Linked DNA regions of Homo sapiens: all the other regions are linked to region 1. Evidence: promoter capture Hi-C in human tissues and cell types (Jung and others, 2019). All regions are on one chromosome and are shown on one strand. Each heading gives the region's core, a stretch centred on a gene start or on the middle of the fragment in contact. The rest is flanking DNA. Distances are from core to core; before and after follow the strand shown.

What was found. The method cuts DNA at HindIII sites, captures the fragments that hold promoters and counts their contacts. A contact is called where the count stands out against the background at its distance.
Region 2: a fragment that was not itself captured here is called in contact with the fragment with the promoter of ZNF684 in region 1 in 1 of the 25 tissues and cell types used here (H1 embryonic stem cells).
Region 3: a fragment that was not itself captured here is called in contact with the fragment with the promoter of ZNF684 in region 1 in 1 of the 25 tissues and cell types used here (liver).

Annotation. Positions count from the first base shown.
Region 1 is chr1:40,530,134-40,532,927 of GRCh38, reverse strand. It overlaps ZNF684 (zinc finger protein 684), which reads right to left and starts at 1,291. Exons shown (of 5, transcript NM_152373.4): 1 at 1,141-1,291. LOC124904149 (a long non-coding RNA gene) reads left to right here and starts at 1,382. Exons shown (of 2, transcript XR_007066022.1): 1 at 1,382-1,440; 2 at 1,573-2,350. RefSeq lists an enhancer at 1,197-1,491. The HindIII fragment of the contact is 10,888 bases long and covers 1-2,794 here.
Region 2 is chr1:40,721,627-40,724,420 of GRCh38, reverse strand. The region is part of intron 1 of NFYC (nuclear transcription factor Y subunit gamma); the gene reads right to left. Among named protein-coding and RNA genes, the nearest start is that of NFYC-AS1, 31 kb to the right of the region's middle. The HindIII fragment of the contact is 5,530 bases long and covers 1-2,794 here.
Region 3 is chr1:40,392,348-40,395,141 of GRCh38, reverse strand. All of the region lies in intron 1 of SMAP2 (small ArfGAP2), which reads right to left. Among named protein-coding and RNA genes, the nearest start is that of SMAP2, 20 kb to the right of the region's middle. The HindIII fragment of the contact is 3,132 bases long and covers 1-2,794 here.

The DNA.
Region 1 (2,794 bases), core at 42-2,541:
GATAAGGATGTTATATGTTTCTGTCCTACTGATCTAGCACCAAGTGGTTCCTCTTGAAACAGTTATTTTTTTTCCTCCCAGAAATTTATCCTGAAGAAATAATGAATGAGTTGACTCACTTAAAAGCTTGGTCTCTGAAGCTCCGTAAGTCTAAAAATGATTCCTTCCTGTGATTCTCTGGTTTCTACTCTGACGCTGGGATAAGAGATTGCAAATTAGGTTGGGCTTTCTTGAGAAGGCTGGATTCAGGGACCCAGGAACACTTTTTTTTATTTTTTTTTTGTTAAGCTGGATCCTTCAGTTTAAACTCCAAATGTTTCTCTCTGTAGAAACTCGCCATCTCCTATGAGCTTAGAACTGCTGGGGCTCTAGAAAGGGTATAATGGGCAAACCGGGGACTCACATCTTCATTTACACAGTCTGCACTGGAAGATCTGCAGATACACCAAGAGACTCTACAAAATGACTACAAATCGAAATTTACTCAGCATTCATTGCTCAAACATTTCAGGAGAATAAACCCAACTCTGTTTTATGCAGGAATGCTATACTGTAAAAAAAAAAAAAAAGAAATTTGGAGAAAATGTATCTGAGTTTGAATCTCAGTTCTTCCACTTACTAAGCTGTGTGAGTCCAGGCAAGTAATTTCACCTTTCAGCTTCAGTTAACTCATATGCAAAATGGTAATAGCATTTACTTCAAATGATTGCTGAGAATACCCTTCTAATCCATAGCAGTTTCTCAAGAATGCTTTCTTCCTGGATCCCTTGAAATAGCTTACAGTTTCCACTGGATCCCTTGACACGGCTTAAAATTGTCGCAGGCTCCAGTCGGGCCAACTATGCTCTTGGAACCAGGAAAGGTACAGTTAGATGAACAGACTCCTACATAGTGACCTTGACCTACAAGAGCAGGAATGCAAATTGAGCCTCTCCCAGTCCCACCAGAGCCCTGGACATCTACCCAGTGCCAGTCGGAGCCCAACTCTTGCTTTCTCTCAGCTACTCGAGTTGAACAGGACCCACATATCCAAACCTGAAGTCACTGCGCTTGGAGACTAAAGTTTTATCTTCGGTAGGGTAAACCTAGAAGCCAGTCCCCGCCTTTCTCTTACGTCCTCCGAGTCCAGCAAAGCCATACCTGCCACCCTTTCACTGCCTCGCTCGCAGCTCCGGCTCCAAGCCTGGGATCAGTCACAGCGTCGTCCAGAGACAGGGGAGCAACACCCGCCCGCACTTCCCGCGGCGCTGATTTGAAGATTGAATACCGGCTACCGTCCTACTACGCGTGTGCGGAAGTAACTGTCCACCTAGAGTTCCTGGACTCCTCCCGGGTGTAGGCCATCCGTCGGAGACCACATTTCCCATAAGGCCAGTGGAGCTCGTTTCCGGAAGACGTCAGACGCTGCTTCCTCTTGGGGGGTGGTGCGGAGATTCCCGGGTTGGTATCTCTATTGCTAGCCTGAGAGCCACGCTTTTTAAGTCGTTTTCATTTAAAAGGATACACAGCATTTTTAAATACTGGAAAGTAAAATCGGCGGTATGCTAAAAACAATTTGCTCTTACTCAGCAGGGTTTCTTCTAGCAATGCACCAGGTTAAGTCGGAGAGGTGAAGAGGATCCAACAAAGAAGACTGAGAAGGAATAATCCATGAAGTAGATGGAAAAGTAGGAGAGTTTAGATCTGCAAAACCAAGGGAAGGAAGTGTTTCAAGAAGGGAGTGACCCATTGTCTCAAATGTTGCTCATAGGTCAAGTAAAATGAGAATTAAGAATGGGCCACTGTAGCAATGGTCACCAGTGATGTTGAAACGCCATTTTGGCAGTGGTGGAAGTTTGATAAAGTCTGATGAAAATTTGATAGGAGTTGGAGGGAAGGATGGGAGGAGAGGAAATGGAGAAAGCAAATATACGCAATACTTTTAAGAAGTTTTGTTTTTAAGGTGAGCAGAAAAATAAGGCTATCATGGGATAGGGATTTTGTTAATCTTTTGTTGTTGCGTTTTTCCACGTTCTAATTTTTTTTTTTTTTTTAATTCAAAGATGGGGCTGAGTGTGGTGGCTTATGCCTGTAATCCTAACATTTCAGGAGGCCAAAGTGGGAGGATTGGTTGAGCCCAGGAGTCTGAAACTGCCTAGGCAACATAGTGAGACCCTCATCTCTACAAAAAATAAAAAACTAGCCTGGCATGGCACCCGCCTGAAGTCCCAACTACTTGAGAGGCTGAGATGGGAGGATCGCTTGAGCCCAGACAGTAGAGACTGCAGTGAGCCGTGATCCCGCCACTGCACTGCAGCATGGGCGACAGAGCTAGTCTCTGTCTCAAAAAAATAAAATAAAAAAGATGGAAGAAATTATAGTAAGTTTATGTACTAATTAAAAGGATCTAGGCTGGGCGCAGTGGCTCACGCCTGTAATCCCAGCACTTTGGGAAGCTTAGGTGGGCAGATCACCTGAGGTCAGGAGTTGGAGACCAGCCTGGCCAACGTGGTGAAACCCCGTCTCTACTAAAAATACAAAAATTAGCCGGGCGTGGTGGCAGACGCCTGTAAACCCAGCTACCTGGGAGGCTGAGGCGGGAGAATCACTTGAACCCGGGAGGCAGAGGTTGCAGTGAGCCGAGATCACACCACTGCACTCCAGCCTGGGCGACAGAGCGAGGCTCTGTCTCAAATAAATGAATTAGTTAATAAAATAAAACAAAAGATCCAGTAGAGGCGGGAAATACACAATTCAGGATAGACAGGCTAGTTACTCGGAGGAATGTCCTTGAGAAGAGAAGGGATGGAATCCA
Region 2 (2,794 bases), core at 87-2,586, 190 kb before region 1:
GTTTCACTGGAAGACATCAACCCTAATTATTTATTTATTTATTCATTTACTTTTAGACGGAGCCTCAGTCTGTCATCCAGGCTGGAGTACAATGGCACGATCTCGGCTCACTGCAACCTCCACCTCCCGGGTTCAAGCGATTCTCCCACCTCAGCCTCCCAAGCAGCTGGGATTATAGGCACCCGCCATCACACCCAGCTAATTTTTGTATTTTTGAAGAGACGGGTTTCACCATGTTGACCAGGTTGGTCTTGAACTCCTGACCTTAAGTGATCTGCCCACCTCGGCCTCCCAAAACGCTGGGATTACAGGCGTGAGCCACCATGTCCAGCCCCTAATTAGTTTATATTGTCTGTTCATGCTAAACAGTAGAGTTGAAGAGTTACAACAAAAATCATACAGCCACAAAGCCTAAAATATCTGGCCCTTTAAGGAAAAAGGTTCAGCCAGGCATGGTAGCTCATGCCTCTAATCCTAGCACTCTGGGAGGCCAAGGCGGGAGGATCACTTGAACCCAAGAGCTCGAGATCAGCCTGGGCAACATAGTGAGACCCCCATCTCAATAGAAAATAAAAAATAAAAAACTAGCCAGGTGTAGTGGCCCACACCTGTAGTCCCAGCTACTCACGAGGCTGAGGCGGGAGGACTGCTTGAGCCTGGGTGGTCAAGCCTGCAGTGAGCCATGATTGCGCCACTGCACTCCAGCCTGAGCAGGAACAGCAGAGCAAGATCCTGTCTCAAAAAAAAAAGAAAAGAAAAGAAAAAGTTTCAGATAATATTCTGATCTTGTTTTAAAGCACTGTTAGGTGTTTTATTTATCCCTGATTTACTGATGGGGAAACTGACACTAGAAGTTGAGAAGCTGGTCCTAGATCACACAACTGTTACTTAGCTCCCCTGCCTCCCTCACCTGTTCATCCTCAATTAGAAGTAAGCTGGGCCAGACCCCCTCTGCCCCACAGAAGTATCTGTTAGTCTCTCTGACCCTCCAGCCTAACGAGTAAATAAATCCTTGTAGGAAGAATGGTGAGTAACTGGTTTTTCAGGCCTCAATCCCGAAAAGGAATTGTGACATGAGCTAGAGACAGAAAGAGTGCCTGTAGCCTAAGTTAAGTTGTATTCTAAAACAAAGCATCATTTTCTTACCGGGTGCCTTCTGAGATTCACAAACAGCCTCTTGCCCAGTTTCTGGCAGTATCCTGTGTTTGTGTGTCTAGCAGAGGGAAGAAGTGTGATTCTGAAGAATGTTTCATAGATGCCAACTTACGGGCTTCAGAGTTCATAAAATACATGCCACATACATCATCCTCAATTGACCCTTACTTAGCTCAGTGATAAATTTACCAATATTATTCCAATTTTACAGATAAGGTTGAGGGTTGAATATCAAATTACTTGCTCAAGATCACAATACAATAAATGATGAGTCAAAATGCAAAAGCTCTAAAATTCTGTCTTGATTTATTATAACTTGCTCTTTCCCACTTTTTGCACTGTTTAAGCTGTCACTCTTTTTTCTTTTCTGTTTTATCCTTCCCCTTTGCATGTCTCTAGGCAGGTTAGCAGCACCTATGAATACTCAGCTGCGAACAGTTGGGGGCACTAAAGCACGAGGTAAATACATAAATAAATAAAATGTATTGGACCTGGGGGTTCTTAGCTCTCTGGCGAACTGTGATCTTGAGCAAATCTCTTAACTTCTTAGAAACTTCTCTATTCATCTAAAGCAACATCCCACAGAGCAGCTGAAACACACAAATGGTAAAACACATGTTAGAAGGCCTCAAAAAATAGCAAGCTTCATACAAATGCCAGATGGCATCATATCATCATGGCTGCCTGAAGCTAGACAAGACACCAACTACTGGTCTGAAGAGTCCCAGATACAGTACCGAGCCTAAAGACCAACTAGCTTCTTTTTCTCTATAATTTAGACTTACTTTGCTTTTGACATATTTCTTTAAAAAGCCTAGTTTCAGATGCATGGAAATACATATTAAAATAGAGAAAGATGTTCTCCTATCTCTTTTATAAACATGAAATAATTTTTAAGCCCTTTAAACTATTAAATTTGGAACAAATGTACTAGTTCCAAAAAAGCAAAGAATTCAAGCTGAACATGGGAACGTTCCAAATTTAAATCCTTGGGTGTGTCAATGATCAATAGCTATACTAGGTTTTCTCTCCACACTAATCCAAAAACATTTAAATTCTTTTTTTAAATTAATTATTTATTTATATATATTTTTTGGGATGGAATCTCACTCTGTCACCCAGGCTGGAATGCAGTAGCATGATCTTGGCTCACTGCAAGCTTCGCCTCCCGGGTCCACACCATTCTCCTGCCTCAGCCTCCCAAGTAGCTGGGACCACAGGTGCCCACCACCACGCCTGGCTAACTTTTTTGTATTTTTAGTAGAGACAGGGTTTCACCGTGTTAGCCAGGATGGTCTCCATCTCCTGACCTCCTGATCCGCCCACCTTGGCCTCCCAAAGTGCTGGGATTACAGGCATGAGCCACCGCGCCCGGCCTTCAATTCTTAGAATATGTCTCCTTGGGCTGGGAACGGTGGCTCATGCCTGTAATCTCAGCACTTTGGGAAGCCAAAGCAGGAGGATCGCTTGAGCCCAGGAGTTCAAGATCAGCCTGGGAAACATAGAAAGACCTCGTCTCTACAAAAAAGAAAAAAAAATTAGCCTGTGTGGTGGCACGCACCTGTAGCTCCCGCTACTCAGGAGGCTGGGGCAGGAGGATCACTTGAGCCGAGGAGCTGGGAGACTGCAATGAGCCATG
Region 3 (2,794 bases), core at 123-2,622, 140 kb after region 1:
AAAGCTATGTCACTGGACCCCCCACCATCAACTGAACTCCAAACTTCTAAGTATGGCTTAAATTCTCCTGTGATCTGGGTCTTTAATTCTCATTACTCCTCTTCTCACTTCTATACACCAAGAGTGACATCACTTCCTCTTAAAACTGTGTATATAGATGCCACTTGTCATGTTCCTGACTCACAGAGGAATCTGAGAGAGTGAATACTACCCACAGAGACGCACAGGCCTTTTTCTGATTTGGGGATGGGATACAGACAGAGGGACTCTTGGGTGTGGTGAGTCTCTGTTCCAACTAGAGGACCTCCTGACTGCCACAAAAATCAATGTACACATATATCAAAACACCACATTGTATACTGTAAACATATACAATTTTCATTGTCAATTACATCGTCGTAAAAAAGAATTCTTTCCAGTTGGTCCTGGGAAAGCTATGCAGTGCTCTTGGTGGTAGTGTCTGAGAGCTGAGACAAGGCCCAAGTCTTTGGGGGTTTCCCTAGGAGATTCTGGTATGTGCTGCTATGATTGTTTTTATAGTAAAGAGCCAACATATTTTAAGGAGGGAGAAAGAGCTAGCCAAGAGATTTTCTGCCAGTATTGAAGAACCTTGTAAAGTCAGTGAGATGAGACTGATTGCATAAGCCAATGAAGCCCCCAGTTGCTTCCGTTAGAGGCCAGTCCCTTGATGCTACAAACACTGAATAAGATAAAACTTAAAAATCTGAACAGGTCCACCTCTTCCTTTGAGGACAATAGACTTCTTCAAAAAAGAGCAAAAGTGGATCCCCGTAAGTTTTCATTTCATGGAGTGAACTGATGATGGCTAACCTTCAAGACATGGTTACTTGAAGATTCATCAAAATCCTTCCAATCCCTAGTGATTGGCGCCCCAAACACCTAAACACACCGCATAAGAGGAGAACAACTTCTGAGGGAAATGGTAGATGGTGTGATTGAAACACTTATCTTAAGAAAGCTTAGAACTGTCCTCCCAAGAAACCATAGGATGGAAGCAAAGAGTTCTGGAACTAAAGGAAAAAATTCTTGAAAACAAGCATATGAATGAACTCAGTTGCAAATGATAAAGAGAGCCAGCTAAAAATCTATGACTGAAACTCCTGGAGAAGATAGATTTCCTTGCTCTCTTTAGAGCCAATTACATGGATAATGGCAACTTGGAATTGGAAAAAAGGGTGAATCAGAAAATGGAGACCATTTAGATTATTGTCAGAAGTTAATTTGAAGAAACTCATTGATTCTGTTCACGCAAATACTCCTTAAAAAGGTTAGAAGTGGCCGGGCGCGGTGCCTCACGCCTTAATCCCAGCACTTTGGGATGCTAAGGCCGGTGGATCACCTGAGGTCAGGGGTTCAAGACCAGCCTGGCCAACATGCTGAAACCCCATCTCTACTAAAAATACAAAAATTAGCCAGGCATTGTGGCTCACGCCTGTAATACTAACTATTCAGGAGGCTGAGGCAGGGGAATCGCTTGAACCTGGGAGGTGGAGGTTGCAGTGAGCCAAGATTGAGCCACTGTACTCCAGCCTGGGCGACAGAGCAAGACTCTGTCACAAAAAAAAAAAAAAAAAAAAAAGTTAGAAGAACTACTTACACTTTGTTGATCAACTTACAGTCTCTCACAAATAGCTTTACAGGGCCTATTTCCTCTATTTGCAAAACATCTTTTTGTGCAAATCTTGCTCTGCCCACTTTCCCCATGAAGCCTTTTCTCCTTCCTATTCCAACTCCCACGGCGCTCTGCTGCCTCTCCTGCTGCACTCACTCATTTGTGGTTGTTCTGTTGTTGGGTTTTTTGTTTGTTCTTCTAAGATAGGGTTTGTTGCTTTGTTGCCCAAGCTAGAGTGCAGTGCAGCCTCAATCTCCTATGCTCAAGCAATCCTCCCACCTCAGCTTCTTGAGTAGCTGGGACTACAGGCATGTGCTACCACGCCTGGCCAGCTTTTATTTTTGAGAGCTCCTTTAGGTAACAACAACAATAAAATTATACTAATTTAGTATACTTTTTTTTTTTTTGAGATGGATTCACGCTCTGTCACCCAGGCTGGAGTGCAGTGGTGTGATCTTGGCTCACTGCAACCTCCGCCTCCCGGGTTCAAGCTATTCCCCTGCCTCAGCTTCCCGAATACCTGGGACTACAGGTGCATGCCACCACGCCTGGCTAATTTTTTGTGTCTTTAGTAGAGACAGCGGGGTTTCACCATGTTAGTCAGGATGGTCTCGATCTCCTGACCTAGTGATGCACCTGCCTCGGCCTCCCAACGTGCTGCGATTACAGGCATGAGCCACTGAGCCCGGCCTAATTTAGTATACTTTTTAAAAACCTAGTATGACTATTTTGCTTATGTGGATTTAAGTTTTAGATTGCTTATTACAGAAAATCACAGAAAGGTAATTTAAATACCCTAAATAGAAAGTCAAGGAAAAGGGTGTCCTTAATGCTCCTTGTCTCCTGGTTAGCCTATGATATTTCAGCTCCAGCCAATTTCCTTTACACAAAGACCCTGCTTAAAGCATTTATGAATAAGCTGGAAGAGTGGTGGATGAGACATGGCTTCTCTGAATAGGGGAGGGAGGACACAAAAAATAGCTGCTTTCATTGAGGGCAGGAAAGAGATTATTTCATTAGGAGCCAAACAGTGAGACTATCTCAGTACAAACAATTGTTTGGCTTGAAGACTCCATGTGGGTAATTACTCCAGCAAAGGCTCAGCTGGAATGGAACACGGAGCCTGCCAGGACCTAAGGATAGGGACTGACACAGGCTTAA